7 separate regions of the Homo sapiens genome follow, and all the other regions are linked to region 7. Evidence: promoter capture Hi-C in 16 types of primary human blood cells and fetal thymus (Javierre and others, 2016). All regions are on one chromosome and are shown on one strand. Each heading gives the region's core, a stretch centred on a gene start or on the middle of the fragment in contact. The rest is flanking DNA. Distances are from core to core; before and after follow the strand shown. Region 1 overlaps ITGB8 (integrin subunit beta 8). Region 2 has its middle 130 kb from the start of ABCB5. Region 3 overlaps ITGB8 (integrin subunit beta 8). Region 4 has its middle 100 kb from the start of ITGB8-AS1. Region 5 has its middle 9.7 kb from the start of ITGB8. Region 6 has its middle 120 kb from the start of ITGB8-AS1. Region 7 holds the start of POLR1F (RNA polymerase I subunit F).

Region 1 (2,700 bases), core at 121-2,620, 680 kb before region 7:
ACCACTACACAATCTACACATGTAACAAACTTGCACTTGTACTCCATACATTTACCCTAAATAAATAAATAAAGCTTCACCATAGATTTCTAAAGGAAGAAGTGTTACGATTAAAGTAGTGCTTTCAGATAAGGTAGGTAGGTAATAGGGAAACTGGTAGGGGGAACACCAGCTTGTGGCAAATGGAAATGGGTTCAAGTATTTATTGAAGCCAAGAAAATGTAATTTCTCTGCAGTTTTTAAAAATAAGTAGAGGGCACTGGGGACTGGCCACTGAGGGGAAATGTATAATTAGGGAGCAGATGGGAGAAACAAAGATAGCAAAGGAGATGAGGGAGACCAAGTAAACAGAGATGCACAATGAAAATTAGGGTGTCATAGCTTCATGAAAATGAGAACAAGAGAGTTTCTAGGAAGAAAGAGCCTTAAAGATTGTGAAAAGAAAGCTATAACAGGGTTGCAGAGGAACAGTTCTATGCTGGGGGGTCCATGGCACCTCCAGTGTGACACAGTTGCTGTCTATTTTGCTTGAGGGTCTCACCTGGCCCAAAAGACTCCAGACACCACCAAGATTATTCTTATGTGTGAAGGCTTTGACTGGCTCAGACACTTCGATGGCCCCTTTTGGTCCGTTATTGAATGACCTAGACCAAAGCTAGGTGTGTCAGTGCTATTTAGAATTAAGCTGATATTCTCTAATTTTAACCTATTATGAGGATATGCTCATGTACCAGAATAAGAAGAAGCACTCTAGACATGCAAGATGCAAAGACGGATTGTGAACTACTTTTTGCCTGATAAGTCTTCTCCACCATTGTCACATTTGAGACCACCCTAAGCATCAGGCTGGACTCAAGTGTATCCAATACAATTCTCAGTTCTCAGATTTGGTTCTAGATGTTACAAACCTAAATAGAATTTATGCTTAAATGCTAAGTTAAGACATTGTAAAGGATACTTTAGTAATACAATATAGAATTTAGATTGTACAAAGTATAATAATTCCAGAATCCTTATCTGTGGTTCTAAAGAAATGTCTTAATTTCAATTACCAATGAAAAAAATTTAATTTTAACATTTTCAGAGTTAACATACCTTATACCAATGAAATTGTTTTCCTTGAACTGCAAAGATGACATTAATGTTGTTGTCTATTAATTTCTCTGAAAGTTGGCCTAGTGAGGGGTGTTCCTGTAATGAATAATAAAATAAATAAGGGAATGAAATTTCATAGCTCCATCCTATTCAAACATCTAATATGAAGAAAACTGTATGACTTACATAAAAATGTACCTGGGAAGGACTATGGTTTTACTGAAGACATTTAAATTTTTGAAAACATAACATCAATATCCATGTATTAAAATATTTTATAGACAAAAGTCCCATAAAAACCTGTAACTTAAAAAGATGAAGAGAGCTGAATTCAACTAACTAACAAAGAGTGAACAGCACCTCTTTAGATTAACACTGGACTCCAAATGGTGTAACTGACAGATAATTTAATATTCAGAAATAGAGACACGTTAGTGGCAATCACATTCTAAGGTGAAATTCAGTAACAAGTATTGAACTGCAAATATGTATGCATGTATATGTATATGCCTATAAACATATATATACACATACACATTCAAACATCCACATATACTATATATACACATTTGATATATAACATGATATAGTTATATAACATATATATATAACATGATATAGTAACGCTCTTTAGAAGCAGGAAATGCTCTACTCAAGTCCTAGGTTTGTCACCTTACAACAAAAGTTCTCAATTCCATCTTCTGTAATATGTGAATGATACCTGCCTTCCATGATTGCTGGCAAGATTAAAAAGATAATAATAGTATGTGAACTATTTAGTGCATTTTCTTGCATGCAGTAAGTGATCAAAACTAATAGCAATTCTGATTCTTATTTCAACTGCTTATACAAGGTATAGATTACAGATTTCTCAACTTATCATTATGCTCAATATTTTTGTTGTATGATATATTTTATACCTGCTTTACTTTGATAAATAAAATTTATGTTGTGCCAACTGTGGCACTCTTTGTGGTAATGAGAAAGTTAGAGAAGAGTAGGAAAATTGAAATAAAATTTAGTTTAGAGAACATGAGAAATCTGATGATTACATAAATGACTATCTAGAGTTATATAGTTAGGTATATTATTGGTAATATTTTTTCTATAAATACTCTTCTAGAAATTAAAATGATTGTCTCGAATAACAAGTTCATAGCTAGATACTTATCAGAGAGATGATGTTAAAGTTCACTGGCAGTAGTCTCTCCTCATTCACTGGTGCCTAATGGCATAAGCCAAAGATTAGTATGTAACTGAGCCCAATTAGTATCATAACATTTAAGTTCAAATTACTCCATAGTTTTTGCTTCCCACTGCACTCTCCAATGTTAACTGTATTTTCTTTAAGGAAAAATCCTGTTAAACCAACTTGGTAAACATTTCTGTATTGTGACAACTATGTGAACTTGGTAAAAGGGCTAGACTAACTAGTTTCACTTATAACGTAAGTTCTAAGTAACAAATAACACTTTATTTCTCTGTCATCTATAATTGTTGTGATAGAAACAAATCAAATTTTCATGAGTTGCCTTTACACATGATATGAAACCAACTAATGAAGAAGCTTAAAAAGTATTAACACGTAGGTCTGCATAGGAAAAG
Region 2 (2,700 bases), core at 6-2,505, 780 kb before region 7:
AGGGTCTAGGCAGGCAGGTCCTTTTGGCCTCCGGGTGACTTGCTTGGGTGGCAATGGTGGCTGGACTGAGTGGGTGAACGGGTGGGTTCTTGGGCCCCTGTTGACATCAGTGGTGGCAATAGTAATGGCGGTCCAATCCTCAGGCCCCTGAGTGGCATGTAGGGGGTGCTAGCAGTGGCGATGGTTGGCTTGGTGGTTCAGTTCTCAGGCCCCCTGATAGTGCACACAGGTACTTGTGGCAGTGGAAATGGGTGGGGCTGGCCTTTCCTCAGATCCCTGGATGGCACACATGTTCAACAATGGCAGTGGTGGGTGGGGTGGACCTGTCATTAGGCCCCCTGGTGGAATGCACAGGCCAGCCAGAGCAGGTTGAGTGGATCAATCCTTGGGACCCCAGACCATGCATGTGGGCACCAGTGGCACTGAGTGACACAGGCTTGTTCTTAGGCCCAGTGCCTGAGCAGGCCAGTCCCAGGCCCTCTGAAGGTACATACAGGAGGCTGGAGGAAGTGAGGTTGTTGTCAGCGGTAATCTCCTTAGGCAGTTAGTTCTTAGGCTGCAAGCAGAGTAAGCTTTGGCTTCTTTTGTCCTGGGGGCAGCTTTCCTAGTGTGCTGCACTGCCTGTTCCCCAGGGTATAGGACACTGCCTTGGTTAGAGTCCTTGAGACGCAGCCACATTGCTGGGTGCATCTGGTGGTGCAATGCTACAGTGCTCTGAATGGATGTTGGGGGATGGAAGTGGAGCTTCAGGAATGTGGAGATTCAGGGGCTGTTGGGCTCCAGAGGCGGATATAGCTGGTGGGGACTGGGCTCTCAAAAGGGCCCTGTGCTGCAGCTGCTTGGGTCTCAGGGGGTGGGTGGGACTCAGCACAAACCCCTTCTCTGGAATAATGTCACTATGTAGACTCCAGACATCTCCTGTACTAGTATCAGAGTCCATAAGGGCAAAGAAACTCTCTTGTGGCTAGGATTGCAGGGGTCCATAGTGAGAATATGAACAACTGGGGATATCTTAGTTGTCTTTTCCCTACAATAGAGAGTTTCTCCTAGCTTTGAACCAATCCCAGCCAGGCTGGCTGTTTCGCTTTCCTCTCTTTCTATGCCTCAGTTGTTCCCTGTCACTTTCCTGCTGAATTCCAGTGTTCTCTCTTAGAAGCTCTATTTGATGTATGGTTATCTACTTACCATTTTGGTCCTTCTTTGTGGTTAATCAGTCATATGGAATTCCACCCTCTGCCCTTCATTTTAAAGTTTGTTACTATGTATATAAACATTAAAAATTGCAATTTTTCTTTTTCAAATTCAATTTTTAGTTTTTTAGTGACCATTTTTATCTTTTCTTTTCCTTTTTGGGACAGAGTCTCCCCCTGCTGCCCAGGCTGGGGTGCAGTGGCACGATCTCGGCTCACTGCCAGCTCCACCTCTCGCATTCATGCCGTTCTCCTGCCTCAGCCTCCCGAGTAGCTGGGACTACAGGCACCTGCCACCACGCCTGGCTAATTTTTTTGTATTTTTAGTAGAGACGGGGTTTCACCATGTTAGCCAGGATGGTCTCAATCTCCTGACCTTGTAATCCACCTGCCTTGTCCTCCCAAAGTGCTGGGATTACAGGCGTGAGCTACCACGCCCGGCCGACCATCTTTATCTTTAATATTTTTTTGCCTTTATGTTTATTTTGTCCGGTTTTAATATAGGTATTCCAGCATTCTTCAGTTTAGTATTTATCTGATATATCTTTTTCACTCTTTCCACATTTTCTTTCATTTCTTTATGATAATGGGACTCTTACAAACAAAACTTAACAGGTTTTTAAAAATATTGAATTTAATATTACAAAATTTATTTTAAATGAAGAATTATTTTAAATGTATAATGATCACTAATATATGTTATTGGTTCTATTATTTTATTATGTGTTTCCTATTTGCCTAAGCTTTTCTGTTTCTCCTTAACTCTTTTCTTACTAGTTTATTGTTGTTTTTTCATTTTAATTATGAGTTTTTTTAACCCATACAGAAATTTTATATTTGTTTGGTTAAATTTATTGATTTTGGGAATTGCATTTGGATTTTGAATTTATAGTTGCCATTTTTCATTCTCATGACTAGTGTATTTCAACATTTCTGAGAAATTCTTACCCTTTATCTATTCTAATTTTGCTTCATCTCAATTTCCTTTATTATTTCTTTTGGAGCCCTGACTAGATGTGTTATCTTAACCTATTTTTAATTTCATAGGTTTTTTATTTTTTCTGGGCTACATTTTGGACAATTTGTTTGAATCTGTTTACTAATTTCTATCCTAGATTTTTATTTGTGTCTGAAAGTCATCTTGGCATTTAAATCCAATTCTTTAAATTTTATTCTCTACCAGAGATTTGACAGACAATAGAGGTGCTGTAAATTCAGACTGTAAATCTCTATGAGGGCAATTTTGTGGTTATGAATTCTCCCTTTTCTCTCCATCCCCACCTCATCTTCCTCTATGACAAGGCTTGAGACAGGCAAATTTCCTTGCTATCTCCTCCTAGGTAACAGGTTTTGCTTCTTCTTCATCTTTATACTGCTGGCAGAAAATCCTATTAGATTTCCCACTTTTCTGAGTAAGTGCTAAGCATTATCACCTGTTTCCTGGATATTGTGCAGTCACTGGAGGAAACTCAGGTGTTCAGGGTTGGGCAGAAACCCTCAGAGGTGACTT
Region 3 (2,700 bases), core at 78-2,577, 630 kb before region 7:
AGTCCAATGTGAAATGCACTGAGCAGGTGCTCAAGCAATGAATTCATTTATTGATTAAATAGTAATGGTGAAAATTTGCAAATGTGATCAAAGGATAACTGCAAGGCCTTTTTCAAATACCAAAGAAAGTTTAAATGATGTACTCACCAAGCAAGGAAAGTGTACACACACATATTAAAAAGATGTTCAAAAGCAAGAGTCAGAATATAAATGGCCATAGAATTTAATTAATTAAAACATCACTTTTCATAGGCACTCTAGGTGACCAGGATTCTCCTATAACTATTTTTTACCTGCTCATAGGTAGCTCTGTTAGTATTATCAAAAGCTACTTGATTAGAGGAAGAGAATGGGTGAATATTTAGTCAAAAGAGACAGGACATTATCATCTGGGAGTGGAGAGCAGAAAACTCCGCTTCTTAAGGAATTTTGAGATTGTAATAATTTTGATGGCTTCTCCATCCTGAATTTTTTTTTGTAATTACTTAATACTTGCAATTAAGCCATGGCATTGTGCAGGGTTTTAGGGATAGGGCACCTGCTTGTATTCCTGTTGTAGAATAACAGCAAAACCTGACATAAGACAGAACTTAACAAGAGTGCTATGAAATGGAACAGGCAGGGTACAGCAGGCAGCAGATAACAGGACGATGTCACCTCAAGGGGGAGTGGGAGGGCCAGAGAAAACTTCCTTAAGGAATTTCCTGGGCCATTTTATTACATGATTGCATCTTTATTCTGTCTGGTTCCCAAATATACATTATCTGTTAAAAACCACACAGTATTGTTAGGTTACTACTGAGAGTCAGCCCAGGCAGCCGGATCAATAAAAACTGGCCAAACGGCAGCAAAGCTGTTCAGAGACATGAAATTGTCTGCCAATATCCAACATCCCATTTCTAAACTTTGAAATCTGAGCCCCTCTGTTTCCTACTTAGCTTTTCCTGGGACCTCAGATCTCTTTTGTCTTCTAACATTTAACCCCTTTCAGGTTCAACTCTGCCGTGTCTACTGAAGATCTGCAAGCTGCCTTTCAAAATATACAACCAATTTATATTTGAATGGGAAAAACAGGAATTACACCCTCACCATGACTGAGGCAATAGGATGTCTCTTCACCTTGTCAGACCCACACTGCATATCCATTGATTATGCAGAGACAGCTAAGTTAATCTGTTTCTTCTGGCCTGGAAGGCTCTGCCGTACTTGCGAACAAATGACAACCAAACTCCAAACTTTGTGTTTCTAGGTTTCTGTGCTCTCAAATGCAGTGTGAATATCTGTGACCATTGATTCCTTTGGTCTTGAACAACCTAAAGTGCCCAGATTCCCACCACCTTTCACTTTTGCACACCAATAATTCCAAAAAAAAAAAAATGAATGAAAAATCTTTTGCCAAATGTGCCATGGGTATAGAAGTTACTGGCAAAACCCTCTCAGATTCTGTAATTTCCAGCCAGTCTCCCAGTGTTTATGTGGCACCTCTTGAGATCTTTTGGATGGAAGAGTTTACTGTATATCTAGGCAACATCCAACAACCTGGTCTTGTGTAACCAACTCATTTAGACCATCCTGGGCCACTTACTGTACAGCATCCTTAGAGGCCTAGAAAGGTGAGTTTGCACTTTTAAGGATAATGTTTTTGGGAATCCAAATTCCTCCTTAGGAAATTCATGTGTAAAAGTGCCACTTAGGCTGGAGAGGTAAGCTCCAAAACGTTGAGGTAATTCTATATTTCTTGGGACTTTCAGGGTATTTAGTTCCTAGATTGTCAATACAGAGCCCTAACAAAGATCCTCAAGTGGACTGACCAGTTAGTGGGTCCTCTGTCACTAGGGCAGCTTTATATTATACAACTTGGAGGCCAATTCTTACGTCCTCTGGAGCTTGATGTTCTTTCATATCATGCTAGAAGCATCTAGTTTGTTCAAAGGGCCAAGAATACTCTGGTTCTGCATGTGGGCTTTTTTTCATTAAGATTAATCCCAAAGGAATTGATAATTACGCAGTATAGGAGAAAATATCACATACCACCTGGGCAGTATCTGAGAAGTTTGCCCTGTGAGAAGGAGGAGTGTAACATCCAATGATCGTTCTGGCTGACCCAACTTTTCTACCCCACCAGTAGAAAGCAGTCAGAAGTAACACATCTTTTTTTTTTTTTTTAACTCAAACATATACCTAAGAGGCAGAATTTGTCCAAAAAGCCCTGATGTCTGACTTTTCATAATGCCCAAAAGTCAATCTCTGCCCAGACAAGTCTATAACCAGATAATCCAACCTCAGGCAAGTGAGTTCTGGCATCAGTGCTATGCTGACCCCCAAGTAGCCAACTGTCAGCCCCGGACAGCCCTAAAAGGGTGGGTGGGCCCAATCTCCAGCTGGCTATGCTGTCTTCAGTGGGCCACAGGCACGTGCTCAAGAGCCCCCTTCCCTTCTCCCATGTGACCACAGTCCCATCAGATGTTACAAAGTATCATGTGGCCTTGGATACCTTCTTTACAAGGCATCAAACATGCTATATCTTCTAAACTAAAGACTGGTAGTAATGCCATTTAGTTCTCATATTTTCAGTATCAACCTGACGTCAGGCTCTCTGATTATATACGTTGGCCCTCACTTTAGGGCCCTTGTTCTAGCTGGTAGTGACTGACACACTCATCAAAAGGGACCTTTTTAACCAAAACTGAGGATGTCTGA
Region 4 (2,700 bases), core at 110-2,609, 720 kb before region 7:
CATTCCATTGATATGACTTTTATCCCACTCTTAATTTTCATGACTAAATAATCTATGACATAAAATATTATAAAACCAGCTACAGGTAATATGCCATTCTTTTTTCCCAACAGAAGAAAACACTTAAAGATATTAAATATGTAAGAATCCTTTGCCTTTCACAGCTTCCCCTTGTTGGGTACGTGTTTCCTTCTGATAAACTACATGTTCACAGTCAAGTGACACTGATTAAATTATAATGCAAAAAATTTTGTTCTCTTTGTCATATTCCTTTATTAGAGAGCTAATAACCAATTGAATTCCATTAATAGTTAGGGTTTGGTAATGATAAGCAAAAAATAAGTAAATAAGAAAACTAAAACAAAATAATAAAATGGAAAACCAGCAACCTAAAGACAGTAAAAGAATAGGAAATTATATGTAGAAAATTCACCTACTCGTGCTGGGCACTGTGGCTGACACCTGTAATCCCAGCACTTTGGGAGGCCGAGGCTGGTGGATCACTTGAGGTCAAGAGTTCGAGACCAGCCTGGCCAACATGGTGAAACCCTGCCACTAGTAAAAATACAAAAATTAGCCTGGTGTGGTGGTGGGCACCAGTAGTTCTAGCTACTTGGGAGGCTGAGGCAGGAGGATCACTTGAACATGGGAGGCAGAGGTTGCAGTGAGCCAAGATTGTGCCACTGCACTCCAGCCTGTGCAACAGAGTGAGACTTCATCTCAAAAAAAGAAAAGAAAAGAAAATTAGCCTACTCAGTTAAAAAGTCTCAGGTATGGGGAGGCACTTCGTAGTTTAGACTTAGATGACACTAAGAGGTTCTAAGTGTGAGGAGCTCAACAGTAGTATCTGGAGCCTGCTGGGATCCTTACTTACGTGTGGCGGTTCTTCTCCAGGCAGAACAGCAAGGCTGAGAGTCCACAGTGGAGATGGAGAAGCAGGATGTTTTAAGGGAATGACCTTGATGCAATGGTAATCTTCCAGTGTACAACCAGGAAAACTATCCCAGAGGTCACAGAATAGAAAGATTCAGAGACTAAACTGAAACTGTAAAAGCTTGTGGTTAATTGAATCAACGTAAAACAGAGTGAGATGCAAGAAAAAAGATATGGTGTAGGTGAAGACACCGGAGAGGGTAGAGGGTTAAAAGAACCATGCTATGTGAATTCTGCATCACGCAATGTTTCTAGGTCCTATCTCTCTTTCCACCTTATCAGCTCTCTCCATTGTCTGCATGATTACAAGGACCAGGTTTGATTGTGAGCAAGGGACTCAGCAGATGGACAGTGCCTGGAGTCAACACTTGCACTGTAGAAGACACACAGGGGCAAATCGGCTTGGTCTCAGCAGTAGCTTCCACATTAACTTACTGAGCAGCTGTGGATTCTATCTGCACATCTCAGGCAGAGGATACCTGGCCAGAATGGGTGTCACCAGTGAGTTGAGGCAATTTAAACTCTCGTGCCTATTCAGTGTCCCATGAATATTATATTTGGCCTCTCTCTTAACTCATCAACATTTAACAGACCATGAATTTTTGCTGCCTTTGGGCTTTCCATCCTCACCTTTGTTTAACACACTGATGTGCTTCTTTCTTTCCCTATGTCTGACATAGTTCACAGGTCATTAACTTGCTATCTATGCTTAATACCTACTATAAGCTTCTGTGTCTCACAAGCTCCTTTTATACTTACATTTATATTGAGTATTTCTTAAGAGTTGTATCAACTCTATTTGCTTTTCTTGTCTTTTACAAAAGAATTGAATATTGTTAAATAACACAGCAGACACCCCTTACAAGGAGGAGGGTATGAACAGAGAAGAAGAGCTTGGGGATGTGCAGAGGGTGGACTTCTGTGTGTTTGTGGAAATTAGTTCCACAATGTGGATTGCCCTCTGGGAGCTGACAGGGAATGGGCAAGGTATTCCTCTTCCCTCTGGGTCCTTCCTATATTCCCTCTCAGTTCTAACATTCTGGACTGGGTCTCTATTGGTTTTCATGGATGATTTATAGCCAGGCACTGAAGAATACTCTCTACATAGCTGTATACTTTAAAAACAGTCCTTTCATAAGCTGTGTTATGCTGTTCATTCCTGTACCATTACATATTTCCCTAGAACTAATAAATTATTTACTTTGCATCCACAAGGCTTAACTAGAAAAACGTACCAAAAATCAGAGTGTCCAAGTATTGAAGAAAGGGGAATACAGACTTTCCCAGGCAGATGACTCCGAAATTGTTCAAGGTACAATTTGGACACAGTATTTTGATTGTGAGTAAGACATAAAACTGGAATTCATCAAGTGTCCTAGCCTGTCATTCCTATGACAACTCATTTGTGTTTTCTGTTCAAGCCATACATTTGATTCTGACCATTCAGCCCTGTAAATTCCAGCTGAACTTTAGCTAAGTTCTAATATAAGAGAGAAAAATCCCCACTATTACTTACAGTATAAGACTTTCTTCTTTGTTTTTCATCTTGGATCATGGAAATCACCAAAGTTTTACTGTTGTGTCTTAAGATTCTGATCCGAGGGGGTGGGTAAGTGCTAATCCAATATATTTGGTAATTTCTATTTTACCAGGCAGTTCCTCTGTAGTATGTCTGCCACACTAAGACAAATACATTTTAAAAATAAATATTTTGCAATTTGAATTTTCTTATCAAGGTAACTTAATAATCATCTGAAGACTGTTATT
Region 5 (2,700 bases), core at 91-2,590, 610 kb before region 7:
CGAGATGGCGCCACTGCACTCCAGCCTGGGCAAGAGTGAGAGACTCCGTCTCAAAAAAAAAAAAAAAAAAAAAAGACTTAAAAAAATGACAGTATTTAGTGGTAGCTAGGTTAAAATAGGAACTCATTTATAGTGAAATTGTAAATTGGCCCTAACTTTTTTTGTAATCAGTTGGCATTATGTAATAAAATCTTTAAAATATTTGAAATACAATTCCCATATCTGGGAATTTAGTCCTCTGAAGGTTCAGAAATATAAGAAATTTATTTATAAAGATCTGCTTTTCAGCATGATATACAATTGCAACATAAAATGAAAACAATATTTTTGGCCATTCGAACCCTTTTCAACCTAAAGTAGCAGGGAAGTCTATCAAGATTTTAAGTGTACCACAGGTATCATTGTTCCCTTTTACAGATGTATGCTAGACAACCCCTGTCTTTCATTAGTTTACAAATTATATTAATCGTGTCTTAGTGAAGCATCTGAAATCTTTTCTATTCCCTTTACCCTCTTTACTCCTTAGTAAAACTTCATAGTTCAGGCTTTTTTTTTTTTTTTTTTTTTTTTTTTTTTCGGGAACTCTTAGCCCTCCTTTCTCCACAGTAGTAGGAGAGTTTTCCTTTGGAGACAGAAATCTAAGCTTTTTGTCCTCTTCTTAAACCCTTCTATGGTTCGTTTAATGCCACTCTCCAACCTTTCTCCTAGGCCATGAAGAGACCTTTAGCATCAGCTATGAAACCTTGGACATTCTGGCCCCAAATCACATTCCCAGTACCCTTTTCTATGAAATCCTCTGCCCTTTCTCAACTGTGTTTACCCTAGGCTCTTCAGAAGAGAATCCTGGTTTTCTATAAGCACTTTCACTTACCTTTTCATAGGCTTCATTCTTGGCCAGACATGTTTTTTCCTCCACTTTTTTTTTTTCCTCATTTGTCCTACTTGATTGTCAAGCATCATTTCTATTGCCACTTCTGCAAGGTCTTTTCAAATTCCTCTGGGCATGATTTACAATGTCTTTCCTTTTAAGTCATTAAACATTTTCTCATTAAAAAAGTAATATGTTTTTATTATAGAAAACATTACATTTTCGTGATGAATCTTATTTGCTTTATTTTTATGTACCTGTGTTCATACTAGATTTATCTTTTTTTGTTGTACTTTTTGTGATTATCTTTCTATGTTACATATTATTCCATAGTGGCTGTGGCGCCTAGTATACTTAAATATGCTGTGTGATTGCACCAGATTCTTGGCAGTGAAATATATTTAGTGTACTCAAATTGGGCAATTTGAGGAGAATTTTCTGATAACCGTGGGATAGGGTGTTAGTGATAGCACAGTATCCCTGAGTTAGAAACAGTGTGCATGGGGGCAGGGCGCAGAACAGAATGCATCACTATCCTTAGGCTTCAAAAGACGAGAGAAGCATATATTACTGAACCTTAGGGAGATTGAGTTATGTGAAGAGGGCCACGTGAAAGGCTGTTTTACCGTTTTACCTTTGTTCAAGAATGGTGGCCAGCCTGAGGCTATCTGCGGAAAGGGGACAGGGAAAATAACTACTCCTACTTCATTCTTCTTCTCATCTTCAATTTTATCAAGACGTACCATTAGTAAAGTTCATACCAAAGCCAGAAGGTAGTGGAGCCACAGTCAGAGTCTTAGGAAGGCTGGTCTCTTATAGCGGAGGGCAATTGGAGAGAGAAGCTGGTGGGGCAAACAGAAGACACTTGACATACCTCAATGTTGGAGTGTGTTCTGTTTATAGTTTTTGGCCATTTTATTAATAAACATATTTGCATGCATCTTTATCCAAATTTTTTAATATTTAGGATTCTTTTCTTAGGAAAAGTTCCCAAGGTAAAATTACTGGGTCAAAGGTTAGATACATTCTGAAGGCTCCTAACACTTACTGCCAAATAGCTTTGCTTTTCCAAGAGATTGTACAAATTCATCCTCCAACCAGAAAACCACGAAAGCACTTTTTAATTATATTTTAAACCCTGGGGAATGTAACCCTCAGGAAAAGCTTTCTGACAACGAGTAAGAAAGAAAGGGTGGGTGTGGTTGGGAGGACAGTTGCTAGTCTGGAGTTAGAAGAAGATAGGGCCAGCCAAAAGACCCAAAGAAATAAGAATTAAAGGACTTGATGAGACGCTTTGTCCAGTTAAGATCCCAATGCTGGGGATGGATTGTGTACTTTGAAATGGCTTTTTAAGTTAGCCTTCCAGCAGGAAACAGAAAGCAGACAAACTGAGTAGTTGAGGACTGTAGGGAAGGTTTTAAGAAAAGGAACAACCGGTGGTATATTCCTCTGGGACTTGTAATAGTGGAGAACCTTAACATCCCTGGCTTGGAGGAACAGTAAAAGACAATATTTCAAGGGACACACACATACACTCACACATGGGGGATGGGGGGCTGTGTAAGGAGGAACTCCAAATAGGAAGAAGGGATTAAATCAATGGACCAGCAGGGGGAAAGTGGGGCAAATAAATGCCCTGACTTGCATTTCTCTCCACCCTCCAAACTCCTGCCAGTGCTCCCAGATGGGCCAAACTCAATGGAAGCTAGAGGTAAAGTAGTCCTTTAACGCATTCTATACCAGCCAGCTTCCTGGGGGCACAGAGTGGGTAGAGAAGGAAACTGGATGGGCAAATGGAAACTATCCAACAGATTTAGGTTTAAAGGATATCA
Region 6 (2,700 bases), core at 150-2,649, 750 kb before region 7:
TGGCACATATACACCATGGAATACTATGCAGCCATAAAAAAGAATGAGTTCTTGTCCTTTGCAGGGACATGGATGAAGCTGGAAACCATCATTCTCAGCAAACTAACACAGGAACAGAAAACCACACACTGCATGTTCTCACTCATAAGTGGAAGTTGAACAATGAGAACACAGGGACACAGAGGGGAATGTCACACACCGGGGCCTGTCGTGGGGTGGGGACTAGGGGAGGGATAGCATTAGTAGGAATACCTAATGTAGATGACGGGTTGATTAGTGCAGCAAACCACCATGGCACGTGCATACCTATGTAACAAACCTGCACGTTCTGCACATATATCCCAGAACTTAATTAAAAAAAAATAGGTTGCATAAGAATTTATACTATATGAACCCATTTACATTTAGTTTTGGAAACATGAAAAAACTATGGTATATGTTGTTTAAGAATGTATACAGATGGAGTAAAAGTATAAAAATATATGGAAATAGGCATGAAATTTATAGTAATAGTTATTCTGTGAGAGAGTGAGTGGGCTGTGATCAAAGATCAGTTCTCAGAGACTTCCAAAATTTTTGCAAGGTGGTATTTCTTAAGTTGGGAGGTGAGTCCCTGACTATTTGTTGTTTTTTAATACACATTTTATATCTTAAATATTCCATATATACATTTCTGTGGTGTAATATTTCTTGGTGCTGAGAAGGGGAAAATAAAGGTGGTGACTGAGGAATCCCCTGCCATGTGGAAAATCAGTTCTTTGGTATTTGGTTCCTACTGACTGGATGTGGAATCCCCAGTATTTTGGAAATATTTGGAAGATCAAGAAAGTTTTCCAGTGGATAGGGCCTTTTCTCACTTCCTTTAAAGATTTTCCTAATGTCTTTGTATTATGAAAATGCATTTATGCCTCAGTTGGAAAGATAATCCATGGTTTGTGTCTCTTCCAGTTGAAGTGTCAATCCTTCACCTTCTTACGTCAAGAAATGAAGGAAGGCAGTATGGTTGAATGGATAGAACATGAAGCCAGACTATCTTAAAATCAAATCTTTGCTTCTTTTCCAGTAAGCTGTATCAACTTGGACAATGAGTAATTTACTCAATTTTTCTGATTTGTTGTGAAAGTCAAATGAGATACCCTATATAAAGTGCCTGAGACATAAGGGCAAAGTCATATTCTGTTTTGTATCATAATCTATAATTTCTCCATCATTTTAATTATATCTATAATGATAGAACTGAGTGATTATATTCAAAAGCCAGATTGAAAGTCACACATTGAAACTAAACCAAGGATTAGTAGAATATTTGTTTTTTCCTGGCTAAACATTAAAATAGTGTGCTGAAGACATCATGCCACTCTTTGATCTTACTGTTGAGTGAGCTGTTACTTCTCAAGGCTAAAGACTTTTCCCTCATATATAATTGCCCAGTAAAGAGTTCTTCATTTATATTGGAACAAAAATGAGTACATGTCTTGGTATGTGTGCCTGCTATTTGCAAATTAGTGTTTATGATGACAATTTTCTTTTAACTACCAGAATGATAGCATTTCAATCCATCAAAATTTTAGACTTTAAGTGGTCTCCAGAGACCATTTCTAAGCCTATTGCTGCTCCTGTTCCTTGGCCCATCTCCATAGTTTGTCAGGACCTACTCCGGGGAGGGTGATCCCTAGGGCCTGCTTCACAAAGAGACGTGACTGATTCGTTGCCAGGAACATCCTTTTCTTGCCTTCACTCTCCTAACTGCGGGGCCCATAGAGACTGCTTTCTCAACTCATCACACTCGCTGTCAGTCCTCTTCCTCAACTAGTGATGGTCTTAAGACTTTAGGAAAGAGGCCGGGTGCGGTGTCTCACGCCTGTAATCCCAGCACTTTGGGAAGCCAAGGCAGGTGGATCACGAAGTCAGGAGATCGAGACCATCCTGGCTAACCTGGTGAAACTCCGTCTCTACTAAAAATACAAAAAAATTAGCTGGATGTGGTGGTGGGCGCCTGTAGTCCCAGGTACTTGGGAGGCTGAGGCAGGAGAATGGTGTGAACCCGGGAGGCAGAGCTTGCAGTGAGCCGAGATGGCACCACTGCACTCCAGCCTGGGCGACAGAGCAAGACTACGTCTCAAAAAAAAACAAACAAACAAACAAGAAAAACACTTTAGGAAAGAAAGTGTATTCCTCTTTGGAGGAATTTAGACTCTCCTAACCTCACCTGAGTTTCCTCAGCTTCTGCACCACAGTTTGGCCCTTGTGTCTCACCTTTCACTGCTGCTGTTCTGCTTTTATCCTCATTCCAAACTCGTTTGATTTGAATTAATTGCCTGTTAATGGAAGTATTAAATAAATAGAAGTTTAATGAAGCCAAAGAACTTAAAGAAGGTTACACTTCTTTTGTCTTGGCAAATTTGAATGGTAACTGGGTTGCATTAATTGGCTTTATACATTTGCTGGGCACTTACTCCAACTGAACTGTTGAGGCACTGAAGCATTAAAGCAAACTGAGATAAGGCAGGGAACAGAAGAGACAGTGTCAATAAACAATACACCAATCAGTTAAATAGAATTCCGTTGATTTAATTTTCTTTCCAAAAATTCTGGAAGCCTAATCCTATTTGGCTTATAAACAAAGGAAATATATGCTAACATCTCATAGCACACACTTTCTTCCATTTCCATGTCCTCTGATTAGAGTATCATCTTGTT
Region 7 (2,700 bases), core at 75-2,574:
TCCACTTAGGCTGTGAGCTCTTTATCACTTATTATTTATTAACTCACTATCAGGTTATTCATTCAAGATGTATTGGTTGGGTTTTTCTTGGTTTCGTTTCTTTGGAGGAGGGATAAATTGTGGGGGGCTACTGTAGTGAACAATACAGATATTATGGTCCCCACTTTAGTGAGTGTAGGAATCTATTGATGGAACAGGCAAGCAAAGACAGTTAATAAAAAATTAACATAAAAACCAACATAGATGGGTAACTACCTAATCCTTATAGAGAAAGAGGAGTGGGGTGCTTGAAAACTCTTTGCAAAGGTATAGAATGTAAAATCTAAGCTAGAAATTCATACATGAGTAGAATTTACCCTTGTGAAAAATGCTATTATATTCCCTGGTGGAAGGAACAGCGTGAGACTGCACAAAGAGAGACCTGAAAGTAGATCAAGCAGCATGATAATATTAGGGTGGGGAGTGTGACAAATGAAGCTGAAGAGAGAGGCTGTGTGCCCACGCAGATCACAAAATGGCCTTGTAACTTATAAGCCATTTTCATGAGTTTGTGTTGTCCTAGAGAAAATGGGGTGCCTATGTAGGGCTTAAACAGGGCACAACACGATCATATGTATTTCAGGGAAGATCTGGCTGCCCCAGAGTGTCCTCCTGACCATTGAGCTAGGCTTCCACAGGCAGGGAGTCCTGCGGTTTTGGCGGCAGGGAAAGAGAATAGTGTCCAAATAGAATGATATTTCCACTTTGGGCAATACAGGTCTTCAGGCTGATTTGATACTTGGGGATACAAAAGAGGATCCGAGGCTGACAGCTTGGCTGTATGATTCCCTGATTTAGCAGTTGCATAATGAGAAGAGAAGCGGGACAGGAGAGAACTAGTGGGTTCGTTTTCAGATGCGTTGCATTACAATTATCAGGCCTGCTTAGGATTCCGTGTACTGCATAAAATATACTCCATAAATATTTTGATTTTTTATTGTACAGTCCAAGCCTGTAAAATTCTACCAAACCCACCTCACTACTGGAAATGATCAAAGTGAGAACCCCCATTTTTAAGCTACCTACTTAATCCAATAAGCCTCTGTGCGAAAACACACATTTGCCTGCCCTTAAAAGAGCAGTCGGTTGGCTTTCCTGCGTGCTCAATGCATTTCCGAGGCTCTAAGCTCCCGTTCTCGAAGCGCGAAAACGCGGTTCCCCCTGCTGGTCAGGGCTGCGTAATGCAGCGAAAAGAGGGGAAATTCCTAGGGGCGTGGTCGTTGGTGGATGGCGTAAAACGAGCGCCGGGGACATGGGATTGTGCTTGCGTCAACGGCGCGCGCCGTGGGAACCTTGACAAGCAGCATGGCTGCAGGTTGCTCAGAGGCGCCGCGGCCAGCGGCGGCTTCTGATGGGTCTCTGGTAGGGCAGGCTGGCGTCCTGCCTTGCCTAGAGTTGCCGACTTATGCCGCTGCTTGTGCGCTGGTGAACAGTCGCTACTCATGCCTGGTGGCCGGGCCGCACCAAAGGCACATCGCGCTGTCGCCCCGCTACCTTAACAGGAAACGCACCGGCATTCGAGAACAGCTTGATGCGGAGCTCCTTCGCTATTCTGAGAGGTACCGATCTCTTTGCCTGTTCCTTCTTTTGTGCACGGGAAGTAAAGCAGGTGGATGTGCTGACGACGCAGCAGAAAGGGGCAAATGGCAAAGGTCGCATTGCCCCCCAGAGCTTAGCCCCCTGGATTTCTAGAGTCGCGATCCGTCCCTCAAGGCCAGTACCGCTCTGGTAAAGATCTATACAGGGTCCCTTTCATAGATAGAGAAGAAAACTTAAAGATGAAGTTCAGGTGTGGGCGGAGGGAGTGGAGATTCTTGCTCCAGAACCCTGGTGTAGGGGTAGGAAAAGACCAGGGATCTGGAGACCTAGTAGGCCCAGTTCTGTTTGGCATTCAACGTTTCATTTATCCCCTTACGGATGATGCTTTCTCATTTGACGATAAAAATCTGGTTTGCAGTGCTTGAGTAGATTCTCATTCCATAGAAGATAGCATACGAAGCATTAGTACAACCGTTCTATTTGTAAAACATGAAGGACCTTTTTTGTTGTTGGATTTCGCTCTGGTAATTTCCCCATTTTCTCTTCTCTTGGACCTGATCTGGGGATTATGAAAATGCCATTAGTTTAGCGGGATTTTGTTGTTTTTAAGAAGATTTATTCAGTCGAACTAGTGAGCCTGTTGCTTTGGGGAGAGAAAAAACCAAAACGTATGCATTTATATTACGGTATTCAAAAGTGACTTGAAAACTTAGAATTACAGAGGTGTGGGGCGGGGGGCGCGGGCATGTGCTTGAGTATTCCTCTGGACTATACTTTGGTTTAAAAGCGGGGTTCTAAAACTAGAGGGAATGGATTCTCTAGGGATTCATGATTGCCCTTCAGGAATTCCTATGTGAAGTTCCTTGGGCACTGCATCGGAAGTTTTTATCAGTTTCTTAAGGGATCCTGGACCTCCACCCATGTCTAGAATCTGCAGATTCTTCCAAGCACCAATATACACTTCTTGTATGTTTATATTACATACCGAACACTTGAGATACAAAAACAAAAAATAAAATCTCTGTTTCAAGGAGCTTTAAGCTGTAGGAGAGATACAAATACAAGCCAATAAATAGTAAAGTGTTAAAATTTGACAGAAATCTAATAAGATAAGGAGTGTAG

What was found. The method cuts DNA at HindIII sites, captures the fragments that hold promoters and counts their contacts. A CHiCAGO score of 5 or more calls a contact.
Region 1: a contact is called between a fragment that was not itself captured here and the fragment with the promoter of POLR1F in region 7, in 1 of 17 cell types (monocytes). The highest score is 5.2, in monocytes.
Region 2: a contact is called between a fragment that was not itself captured here and the fragment with the promoter of POLR1F in region 7, in 1 of 17 cell types (monocytes). The highest score is 5.2, in monocytes.
Region 3: a fragment that was not itself captured here is called in contact with the fragment with the promoter of POLR1F in region 7 in 1 of 17 cell types (naive B cells); the score reaches 6.7 in naive B cells.
Region 4: a fragment that was not itself captured here is called in contact with the fragment with the promoter of POLR1F in region 7 in 1 of 17 cell types (monocytes); the score reaches 6.4 in monocytes.
Region 5: a fragment that was not itself captured here is called in contact with the fragment with the promoter of POLR1F in region 7 in 3 of 17 cell types (total B cells, naive B cells and erythroblasts); the score reaches 7.9 in total B cells.
Region 6: a contact is called between a fragment that was not itself captured here and the fragment with the promoter of POLR1F in region 7, in 1 of 17 cell types (monocytes). The highest score is 7.3, in monocytes.

What each region holds. Positions count from the first base shown.
Region 1 is chr7:20,389,894-20,392,593 of GRCh38, reverse strand. It overlaps ITGB8 (integrin subunit beta 8), which reads right to left. Exons shown (of 14, transcript NM_002214.3): 7 at 1,096-1,191. Among named protein-coding and RNA genes, the nearest start is that of ITGB8-AS1, 59 kb to the right of the region's middle. The HindIII fragment of the contact is 2,588 bases long and covers 77-2,664 here.
Region 2 is chr7:20,484,852-20,487,551 of GRCh38, reverse strand. No RefSeq gene overlaps it. Among named protein-coding and RNA genes, the nearest start is that of ABCB5, 130 kb to the left of the region's middle. RefSeq lists an enhancer at 1-486. The HindIII fragment of the contact is 1,361 bases long and covers 575-1,935 here.
Region 3 is chr7:20,341,356-20,344,055 of GRCh38, reverse strand. The region is part of intron 1 of ITGB8 (integrin subunit beta 8); the gene reads right to left. Among named protein-coding and RNA genes, the nearest start is that of ITGB8-AS1, 11 kb to the right of the region's middle. The HindIII fragment of the contact is 3,904 bases long and covers 1-2,700 here.
Region 4 is chr7:20,430,852-20,433,551 of GRCh38, reverse strand. No RefSeq gene overlaps it. Among named protein-coding and RNA genes, the nearest start is that of ITGB8-AS1, 100 kb to the right of the region's middle. The HindIII fragment of the contact is 605 bases long and covers 1,057-1,661 here.
Region 5 is chr7:20,319,823-20,322,522 of GRCh38, reverse strand. No RefSeq gene overlaps it. Among named protein-coding and RNA genes, the nearest start is that of ITGB8, 9.7 kb to the left of the region's middle. The HindIII fragment of the contact is 1,389 bases long and covers 646-2,034 here.
Region 6 is chr7:20,453,279-20,455,978 of GRCh38, reverse strand. No RefSeq gene overlaps it. Among named protein-coding and RNA genes, the nearest start is that of ITGB8-AS1, 120 kb to the right of the region's middle. The HindIII fragment of the contact is 6,142 bases long and covers 1-2,700 here.
Region 7 is chr7:19,707,661-19,710,360 of GRCh38, reverse strand. POLR1F (RNA polymerase I subunit F) reads left to right here and starts at 1,324. Exons shown (of 4, transcript NM_001002926.2): 1 at 1,324-1,598. The coding sequence starts at 1,345. RefSeq lists enhancers at 1,172-1,451, 993-1,595, 1,562-1,631, 1,596-2,200. The HindIII fragment of the contact is 8,345 bases long and covers 1-2,700 here.